3 separate regions of the Homo sapiens genome follow, and all the other regions are linked to region 1. Evidence: promoter capture Hi-C in 16 types of primary human blood cells and fetal thymus (Javierre and others, 2016). All regions are on one chromosome and are shown on one strand. The core of a region is centred on a gene start or on the middle of the fragment in contact, and the rest is flanking DNA. Distances in the headings are between cores, read along the strand shown.

Region 1 (3,266 bases), core at 519-3,018:
CAGCTTTTTTCTGTTGCTGGCAAGGAGCTGTGATCCTTTGGAGGAGAAGAGGCACTCTGGTTTTTTGAATTTTCAGATTTTCTGCTCTGGTATCTCCCCATCTTTGTGGTTTTATCTACCTTTGGTGTTTGATGTTGGCGACCTACAGATGGGGTTTTGGTGTGGATGTCCTTTTTGTTGATTTTGAGCTATTTCTTTCTGTTTGTTAGTTTTCCTTCAAACAGTTTCCTCAGCTGCAGGTCTGTTGGAGTTTGCTGGAGGTCCACTCCAGTCCCTGTTTGCCTGGGTATCACCAGCAGAGGCTGCAGAACAGCAAATATTGCAGAACAGCAAATATTGTTGCCTGATCCTTCCTCTGGAAACTTCGTCCCAGAGGGGCACCCACCTGTATGAGATGTCAGTCGGCCCCTACTGGGAGGTGTCTCCCAGTTAGTCTACACAGGGTTCAGGGACCCATTTGAGAAGGCAGTCTGTCTGTTCTAAGAGCTCAAACACCATGCTGGGAGAACCACTGCTCTCTTCAGTGCTGTCAGACAGGGATGTTTAAGTCTGCAGAGGTTTCTGCTGCCTTTTGTTCAGTTATGCACTGCTCCCAGAGGTGGAGTCTATAGAGGCAGAAAGCCTTGCCTTGCTGCAGTGGGCTTCGCCCAGTTTGAGCTGCCCAGCTGCTTTGCTTTCCTACTCAAGCCTCAGCAATGGTGAGCAACCCTCCTCCTGCCAGGCTGCTGCCTTGCAGGTTGATCTCAGACTACTGCACTAGCAGTGAGCAAAGCTCTGTGGGAATGGGACCCACCAAACCAGGCACAGGATATAATCTCCTGGTGTGCCATTTGCTAAGACCATTGGAAAAGTGCAGTATTTGAGCAGGAGTGTCTTGTTTTTCCAGGTACAGTCTGTCACGGCTTCCCTTGTCTAGGAAAGGGAAATCCCCTGACCTCTTACACTTCCTGGGTAAGGCAATGCCCTGCCTTGCTTCGGCTCACCCTCTGTGGGCTGCACGCACTGTCCAACCAGTCCCAGTGAGATGAACCAGGTACCTCAGCTGGAAATGCAGAAATCACCCATTTTCTGCATCAGTCACACTGGGAGCTGCAGACCGGAGCTGTTCCTATTTGCCCATCCTCTCCCTGCTTTCTTTACCTCTGAGGTTGGATTCTCCCTGTGGGATCCTGCAATCCTTCTGCCCCAAAAAACTATTATAGCAGGAGGGAACCTGTTCCTGCTCACTCTTTGCCTTCTCCTTCTCATCCTAGACAGCCTGACCGTGCCCTAGTTTTCAGAGGAGTGATTGATTCTGGGGTGCGGAGCAGGATGAGGAAACTCAGGCTCAGAGAGGGATTTCCACCTAATGTGCCTGGAAACCATGGGTAGCTACCCAATAAGGCCTTTCTATGTTCAGAAGGTCATGGACCAGGAGTGTTGGTATCGGAGCTTTGTAGAGACAGTTTTGACCCCTGTACTTAGAGCAGAGGGGTGTGTTTGCCATGGAGAGTGTGTGTGGGCAGCTGTGTGTAAGCCTGTGTGAGTTCTGTGTATGTTCCTGTGTGAATATATGTGTGTGCTCCTTCATGGACACAGCATGCATGTAGTGGGCATAGCAAGGCAGAGAGAAATCAGGAGACTAGGGGCACATTGCCCAGTAGGAAGATAGTATCTTCCTACTGGGCAGGACTTGAGGTGTGCAAAGGTGTGCATGAGTACTGCAAAAGCAGTTCAAAGAGCAGAGAGGTGGGGCCAGAATAAATATGTTGCAGAAAGGCAGTCATCAGGGAGGAAAGTGAGGATTCCCTGCCAAAATGCCTGAGGGCTTCCCTGCCTACCACAGCCCTCTGTGTTCTTAAATCCTCCTGTCTGAACAGAGGCCAGACTCTGGTTTCCCCCACAGCCTGTCTGTGTCTGTCCTCTGCAAAGCCATGTGGCTCTACCTGGCGGTTTTCGTGGGCCTGTACTACCTTCTGCACTGGTACCGGGAGAGGCAGGTGCTGAGCCACCTGAGAGATAAGTATGTGTTCATCACGGGCTGTGACTCTGGCTTCGGGAAACTGCTGGCCAGACAGCTGGATGCACGAGGCTTGCGGGTGCTGGCTGCATGTCTGACGGAGAAAGGAGCCGAGCAGCTGAGGGGCCAGACTTCAGACAGGCTGGAGACGGTGACCCTGGATGTTACCAAGACAGAGAGCGTTGCTGCAGCCGCCCAGTGGGTGAAGGAGTGCGTGAGAGACAAAGGTAACCACCCAGGTTTGTCAAGTCTGTCTGTGTCTTCCCTCTGTGTGAAGGGACCACCTCCTGTCTGCTCCCTGGGAAGATTCCTACAGTGTCTTTCCAGGTTGAAGTAACAGTAGCTTTCTAATATTTCTCACTTAACAGGCTGCCTGAACCCCATCTCTTTTCAATCCTTAACCTCTCCCGACATTGGAGGTGTCTAGTCTTGGGGAGAGTTTGCCCTGATGAGATTTTCTCTCCAGAATTCCTCTCTATCCTCTCCCTCCTGTCTAAGCAGAAGTCATGTGTTGTTTGATGCTAAGAGCCTGGGTTAGAGATCTGGAGACTTGCTGGAGCATCGTTGAGAAGGGAGCACAGGGCTGCAAGTGTGCACGGAGGCTGTGCCTGTGCTGGAGCCAGGCTTATGTTCCCAGCACTTTACCTTGTTTTTGCTAGGGCCCATCAGCGTCCACTGAGAGCTACGATCATCTCCATCTTCAGAGGAGAGTATCAGCTTAAGGACTGCTTAAGGAAGGCAGAACTAGTAAGGGGTTACTTTTTCTTTCTTTCTTCTTTTCACTACACTAATTCATCTGTCTTATTATAGAGGAAGAAAGAAACATGGATTTATTTTATGTAACAATAAATCAGAATATGATCTTTGTGGAAAACACTGAAAAGAATAAAGATGAAAACAAGTTTCCCTGAAATTGTCATCCACACATAAGTCCTTTTTACAATTATACAAAATTAGGATTTTATATTTTGTTCTTAGTTTCAGTCACCTTAAATTCTCTGGAGAAGATGAACACTTTTCCACCATAATGACTGTTTTTATAAAATTATATTTAATTATTTAGAATACTGTATCCTTCCAATAGCCTTACCTATGTAATCCATACTGAGTGGTTGGATATGAAATTCCTTCCTGCTTTTTATTCATCATAAATGTCATCTTGGTGGACTTTTATTTGCCAACGTCTCTGTAAGTGTGAGTATTGATTGGATTCTTAAAAATGAGATGTCTGGGTGGAGGAATCTGCATTTGCATCAGGGCAGGGCCT
Region 2 (3,266 bases), core at 266-2,765, 120 kb after region 1:
AAAAGTCGAAAAATAACAGATGCTGGGAAGGTTGTAGAGAAAAACACCTATACACTGTTGGGAGTGTAAATTAGTTCAACCGTTACAGAAAACAGTGTGGCAATTCCTTAAAGACCTAAAGACAGAACTACCATTCAACCCAGAAATCCCATTACTGGGTATATACCCAAAGGAATGTAAGTTACTCTATCATAAAGACACATACATGCATATGTTCATTCCAGCACTATTCACAATAGCAAAGAGATGGAATCAACCTAAATGCCCATCAATGATAGACTGGATAAAGAATGTGGTACATAAACACAATGGAATACTATGTAGCCATTCAAAAGAATGAAATCACGTCCTTTGCAGGGACATGGATGGAATTGGAGGTCATTATCCTTAGCAGACTAATGCAGGAACAGAAAACCAAATACTACATGTTCTCATTTATAAGTGGAAGCTAAATGATGAGAACACATGGATATATAGAGGGGAACAATGAACACTGGGGTCTATCAGAGGGTTGAGGGTGGGGATAGGGAGAGGATCAAGAAAAATAACTAATGGGTACTAGCCTTAATACCTGGGTGATGAAATAATCTACACAACAAACCCCATGATACACGTTTACCTATGTAACAATCCTTCACGTGTACCCCGATCTTAAAATAAATGTTAAAAAAAGAAACCTTTCTTCTTTTCTAATATAGGCATTTAGTGTTATAAATTTCTCTCTAAGCACAGCTTAGCCCCACTCCACAAACTTTAATGTACCACATTTTCATTTTCACTCAGTTGAAATATATTCTAATTTTTCTTTGTATTTCTTTTTTAATCCATGCATGTATCATTTAGCCAAATATTTTGTAATTTTCCAACTACTGGGAGATTTTTTGGATACTTTTCTGTTATTTATTCCTAATTTAATTCCATTGTGGTCAGAGAACATACTTTTTAAGGTTTAGAAGATTTTCTTTCTTTCCCAAGGTGAAGGAGAGACCCCTGCCATGGGACTCTCCCTGATAGCCCTCGTGGGCCTGTACTACCTTCTGCGCTGGTAGTGGGAGAGACAGGTGGTGAGCCTCCCTTGAGATAACTGCTTCATCATGGGCTGTGACTCGGGCTTCGGGAATCTGCTGGCAAGACAGCTGGATACGCAAAGCTTGAGGGTGCTGGCTATGTGTCTGATGGAGAAGGAGGCAGAGCAGCTGAGGGGCCAGACTTCAGACAGGCTGGAGACGGTGACCCTGGACATCACCAAGACAGAGAATATCGCTGCAGCCACCCAGGGAGTGAAGGATGCATGGGGGACAGAGTACAGTGCAGGGGATGGATGGCGGGGGCAGTGGGGGAGTCTGTCCTTCAGACAAATTGCTTTGTCCTCAATGTCTCTGGTTAGCCAGATAATGTTCCAGGTACAAAATATTAGGGGTTAGCTTAGGCATATACTGGGGATGTGTTTTCATTGCTGACAGATACATTATGAATGATGACTGTTCTTAGGACTGACAAATACAAGCATTTTTATGAGAACAGTGAATGAATGCTTGGAATCAAGATTGCTCTGAAATATTCAGGTTGTGTGGTACGTGTATATATCTGGGTAGAAGGAGGGAATGAATGAAAGATAGGGAGGTATAGATAATAAAGGTATAGAAACTGGTATAGAAAGCAAACTGCAAGAACAGTGGCCCTCAAAAATCCAGGGCATGAAAATGCTAACTTAGTAAATAAGAGGTGCTTATTCTTTTTCACTCTTATTTGGAGAAACTTACTTCACAAAAGGATTCTTAGCTGCATCCTTTAAAGCAGGAGGTAATTACACTGTCTACATTTTATTTTGCCTTACTGAGGGTGGATCACTTGTGTAAATCAGTGTTTTCCAAGCTTACTTAATCATAAGATGAGAAAGACCTGATTAATCGAGGGGGATTCTTAATAAGTTTTATTATTCAAAAAGTACCCCTAGCTGAGTCTTAGTATGAGGCAATCAAATCACATCTATATTCTGATCACTAAGGCATGGTCTGTGTTTTTCTAGGTGTTGTTTTCCTACCATCAGTTGTAAGCTAGAGTTTTTGAAGCAGCCCAGGGAATTGGCAGAAACTTTGTGAGCCTAACCAAAGACTGTAAGACAAGAGCCAAATTTCAATGATTGCTGGAGAAACTCCAAAGCAGGCCATTTGGGGCCCTCTGGTGGCTGGGGGGTACACCGAGCAGGACAGCAGGACCAGCTGCAGCTGAGTTCCAACATGCCATTTTACACATTCCCTTGACTTATCATGGCAGATCTTGACTCTCATCCTTGCATCAATGTGGCACAGGCCTCAGGGCCAGCTGGCATCCTACACAAGTCCTCTGAGGGGTGAGGGACAGAAAACCCCACAGGGAGAGGCTGAAGCCAAAAGGTCTCCTAATCAGCCTGAGGCACCAGGAATAAACTTAAGGTCCAACAAAGTCAGGTCTTTTGTCCTATTGCCATGAGGAAGACTGCATACCAGGGGACTCATGGGTTGTCTGATCAAAGGAAAAGAGAATTATTATAGGATATGGAGATGAAGCAATTTCTTGATAGACTCCAAGCAAAGCAGGGCTCTGTGAAAAGAGATCAACTCCAGGTCTGGATTACAAAATGGTCCCAAGGTCTTGTTTCATTAGAAAGCACAGTTTAGATGTGAAATGTTTCCAGCAACCCCTATCTAAAGTTCTGCACCTGGGTTATATAATGAGGCTGCTTCTGTGTCAAAGTGACTCAGGCAAGGGTGGGATATTCATTTTTATGATATAATTTTTTTAGACATGAGGTTTTGCTTTATTCCCCAAACTGGTCTCAAACTTCTTGCCTCAAGCCATCCTCCCACCTTGGCCTCCCAAAGTGCTGGGATTATAGATGTGAGTCACCATACCTGGCCTCTTACAATAGAATTTTAAACACTGAAGTGTTTGATAGTCTTTGCTTTTACAGAACAAGATTTCTCAGTGAGTAAAAAGTCTATAGTCACTCAAAGAAAGAGGTCGTTAAGACACTTTACAGTTGCAGCATGTCCTTCAAAAAACCCTTTGGCCAGCCAGAAAGATACTTTCTCTGTTCAAATTAATATTTACTTTCTCAAGGATCAGGGCAGGGCATTGAGAGGGGTGAGTGCAGGAGAGGGAGGTTGGTGAGCAGCACAAGGACTTGCCTTCTTTAGAATTCAATCTGTAGTTATCTTGCATTTCCCTCCTGCACATATCCCTTCTGCTCCAAATTTTGAAAGGAAATAGGGAATTAATATTCT
Region 3 (3,266 bases), core at 548-3,047, 92 kb after region 1:
ATTATTTATGGGTCTTACTAGGGATTGAACTTTGATGTGAAAAACACACTGATGCAGATTTTGTCCCGTGTGTTAGAATAGCAAGGTTTCTTTAGAATGTTGATTTGCTCTTAGTAAAATTATAGGAGGTTTTGATTAATTCTGAAATGTGTTTCTTTGACAGCCATCCTCTCAATTACAAACAGTTTCTATTTCTGCCACATTTCTCCCTGGAATCTATCTAACTTCTTTCTCTAGTTTCAGGTTGGAAATACAGCTCTACTTCTTTCTATCCTAAAAAGATATGGTTTTTGCTTGGTTGGGATGATAACATTCTCCTTCAACCTTTTTGTTGACTCCTGTAACATTTTTCTGGTTCTGCCAGTTCACTTTTCATCAGGTTTAACTTTCAGGTTATCTAAATGAACTTACCAAAAGAAAAAGCAATCACATTGCAAGAGATTTTCTTTTCTTTGCCTTGTGGGCAATTGGCCTAGGAAACAAAGATTCTGTTTTACCAAGATAATTTCCTGTGCTTCAAGTTATCTTTATTAGGTTTTTTATTACTTAGGAAAACTGAGCTTTAAAAGGGTTAAGGTTTTTACATTCATGTAACTTTTTCTATTGTTTTTGACATCTTTTGATTGTCAGTCTGGTTAAATGAATAACTATCATCTTGCAGCGAACTTTGATTCTATTGAATCAGATACTTTGAACTTTAAAGCTTGTGACATCTTTGGAAGGTTTCCTGGGATCAAAGCCCTAAATTAAATCTTTTAGATATTATTAGGAAGCATTGTCAAATAAAAATTATTTTTAACTTTCTTTAAGTTGCATGTGTAAATGTGTTATTAAAATGTGTTTCAAAATTTCATGTGATAAAATTCTGAGATATAGTGATATGTGTTGTCAATCAGCTATAGTCCAAAATTGCTTTTCATGGAACTGCTGATCAGTGTCAAGCAAGGTAAAATTGATTACATGAAATTAAGTAATTGATAAGGATAATGTTTTATGACTTTTATTTAGAGCATTCTTGGTCTTACATGTTTTGTTTTTCAGATTCAAGGAAATTTACTTCATAATTTTTTATAGTTTGTAATAATTTGGTAAAATATCCTTTCGTTAACAAAAGTGGAAGCATTTGCTTTTTCTCCCTACTTGAGATCTCCAAAATTTAGAAACTATTTTTGAGTATTCTTATTTTATTTACATGCTCTCTATAAGCAGGATACAAGTGGAATTCTCAGTTATAATATCAAGGTTTTGACTGAAATGTCATATTTAAGAATGTACATAAAATGCCTGGCTTCAAGAGTTCCCAGGCTTACCGTAAGTGAGTCAAAATTGCTACTTCCAGGCATGCCCAAGGACACTAAGATTGTAAGTGAAATCTAAAGTTTGCCTTCATTTGGCTTCCTAAACTCAAAAGGTTTTAAATTTAAGATTCCTATAAAATCAGTGTAAAAAGAAAAACTTATGTTTCCAAAGAAAAACTATATAACTGTTACTATATTGTAGATCTGTACATTGTTTTCAGATCCTTGTTATTTACCTGTAGACTGGACTACACCCTGAATTCTCCTAATTTCCTGATGCCTCTGCCAAACTCCAACAAGGAACACTCTTAGACAATTAACAGGTGCTTACCTGACTTTCTACCTTGCCTGGCCCAGGCTGTTCAAATTGGCTATGAGCTCTTAGTCACAGAAGTCCCACCAAGGGACTAGACAGACCCAGAGCAGGTAGCCACATCACTTCAACAATAATATGGGACAAAGACATAACACTGGTAGTCAATGCTGCCTATGGCAGGTTTCAACCAAAGGGAGTGAAATGTCAAAGTATGCCCCTGGCCAACAGACTAAATGAATTCCCCATGGCTAACTGAGGTGCTCAAAGTTACAGGAAGTATGGCTGAGAAGGCCTCAGGAAACTTACAATCATGGCAGAATGCAAAGGACAAGTAGGCACATCTTACATGCAGGAGCAGGAAGAAAAGAGTGAAGGGGGAGGTGCTATACACCTTTAAACCACCAGATCTCATGGGAACTCACTCACTATCATGAGAACAGCAAGGGGGAAATCTGCCCCCATGATCCAATCACCTCTCATTAGGCCCCCTCCTCCAACATTATGAATTACAATTCTATGTAAGATTGGGCAGGAACACAGATTCAAATTGTATCATTCTGCACTTGGCCCCTCCCAAATCTCAGGCTCTTCTCACATTACAAAATACAATCATCACTTCTCAAGAGTCCCCCAAAATCTTAACATATTTCAGCATTAACTCAAGAGTCCACAGTCCAAAGCCTCATCTGAGGCAAGGCAAGTCCCTTCCACCTGTGAGCCTGTAAAATCAAAGACAAGTTAGTTACTTCCAAGATACAATGGGGCTACAGACATTGAATAAATACACCCATTCCAAAAGAGATAAATCACCAAAACAAAGGGGCTACAGGTCCCATGCAAGTCCAAAATCCAGTAGGGCAGTCATTAAATCTTGAAGCCCCAAAATAATCTCCTTTGGCTCCATGTCTCACATGTAGGCTACACTGATGCAAGGGGTGGGCTCCCAAAGCCTTGGGCAGCACTGCTCCTCTGGCTTGCAGGGCTCAGCTCCCATGGCTGCTCTCAAGGGCTGGCATTGAGTGCCTGCAGCTTTTTCAGGTACATGGTACAAGCTGCCAATGGATCTACGATTCTGGTGTCTGGAGGATAGTGGCCCTCTTCTCACAGCTCCACTATGCAGTACCCCAGTGGGAACTCTATGTGGGGGCTCCAACCTCATATTTCCCCTCCACACTGTCCTAGTAGAGGTTCTCCATGAGGGCTCCATCCCTGCATCAGAATTCTGCCTGGACATCCAGGTGTTTCCATAAATTCTCTGAAATCTAGGTGGAAGCTTCCAAGACTCAACTTTTTCCCTCTGCGCACCCACAGGCTTAGCACCACAAAGAAACTGCCAAGTCTTAAAGGCTTGCACCCTCTGAAGCAGTGGCCTGAGATATATCTGGAGCCCTTTTAACCATAGCTGGAGCTGGAGCAGCTGGGGTGCAGGGAGCACTGTTCCAAGGTTGTGCAGGGCAGCAGGGCCCTTGGCCTGGCCCAAGAAACAATTTTTCCATTCTAGGCCTCTGGACCTGTGATGGGAGGGGCTGCTCTGAAGGTCTCTGTCATGGTTTCAAGGCATTTTCCCAATTGTCTTGGTTACTAACATTTGGCTCCTCTTAAGCCAATTTCTGTAGCTGACTTGAATTCCTTCCCTGAAAATGGGGTTTTCT

What was found. The method cuts DNA at HindIII sites, captures the fragments that hold promoters and counts their contacts. A CHiCAGO score of 5 or more calls a contact.
Region 2: a contact is called between a fragment that was not itself captured here and the fragment with the promoter of RDH16 in region 1, in 5 of 17 cell types (M0 macrophages, M2 macrophages, erythroblasts and 2 more). The highest score is 8.2, in M0 macrophages.
Region 3: a fragment that was not itself captured here is called in contact with the fragment with the promoter of RDH16 in region 1 in 4 of 17 cell types (erythroblasts, M0 macrophages, megakaryocytes and 1 more); the score reaches 8.5 in erythroblasts.

What each region holds. Positions count from the first base shown.
Region 1 is chr12:56,956,110-56,959,375 of GRCh38, reverse strand. It overlaps RDH16 (retinol dehydrogenase 16), which reads left to right and starts at 1,768. Exons shown (of 4, transcript NM_003708.5): 1 at 1,768-2,226. The coding sequence starts at 1,914. The HindIII fragment of the contact is 6,494 bases long and covers 1-3,266 here.
Region 2 is chr12:56,839,005-56,842,270 of GRCh38, reverse strand. No RefSeq gene overlaps it. Among named protein-coding and RNA genes, the nearest start is that of HSD17B6, 77 kb to the right of the region's middle. The HindIII fragment of the contact is 725 bases long and covers 1,153-1,877 here.
Region 3 is chr12:56,864,081-56,867,346 of GRCh38, reverse strand. No RefSeq gene overlaps it. Among named protein-coding and RNA genes, the nearest start is that of SDR9C7, 69 kb to the left of the region's middle. The HindIII fragment of the contact is 2,184 bases long and covers 706-2,889 here.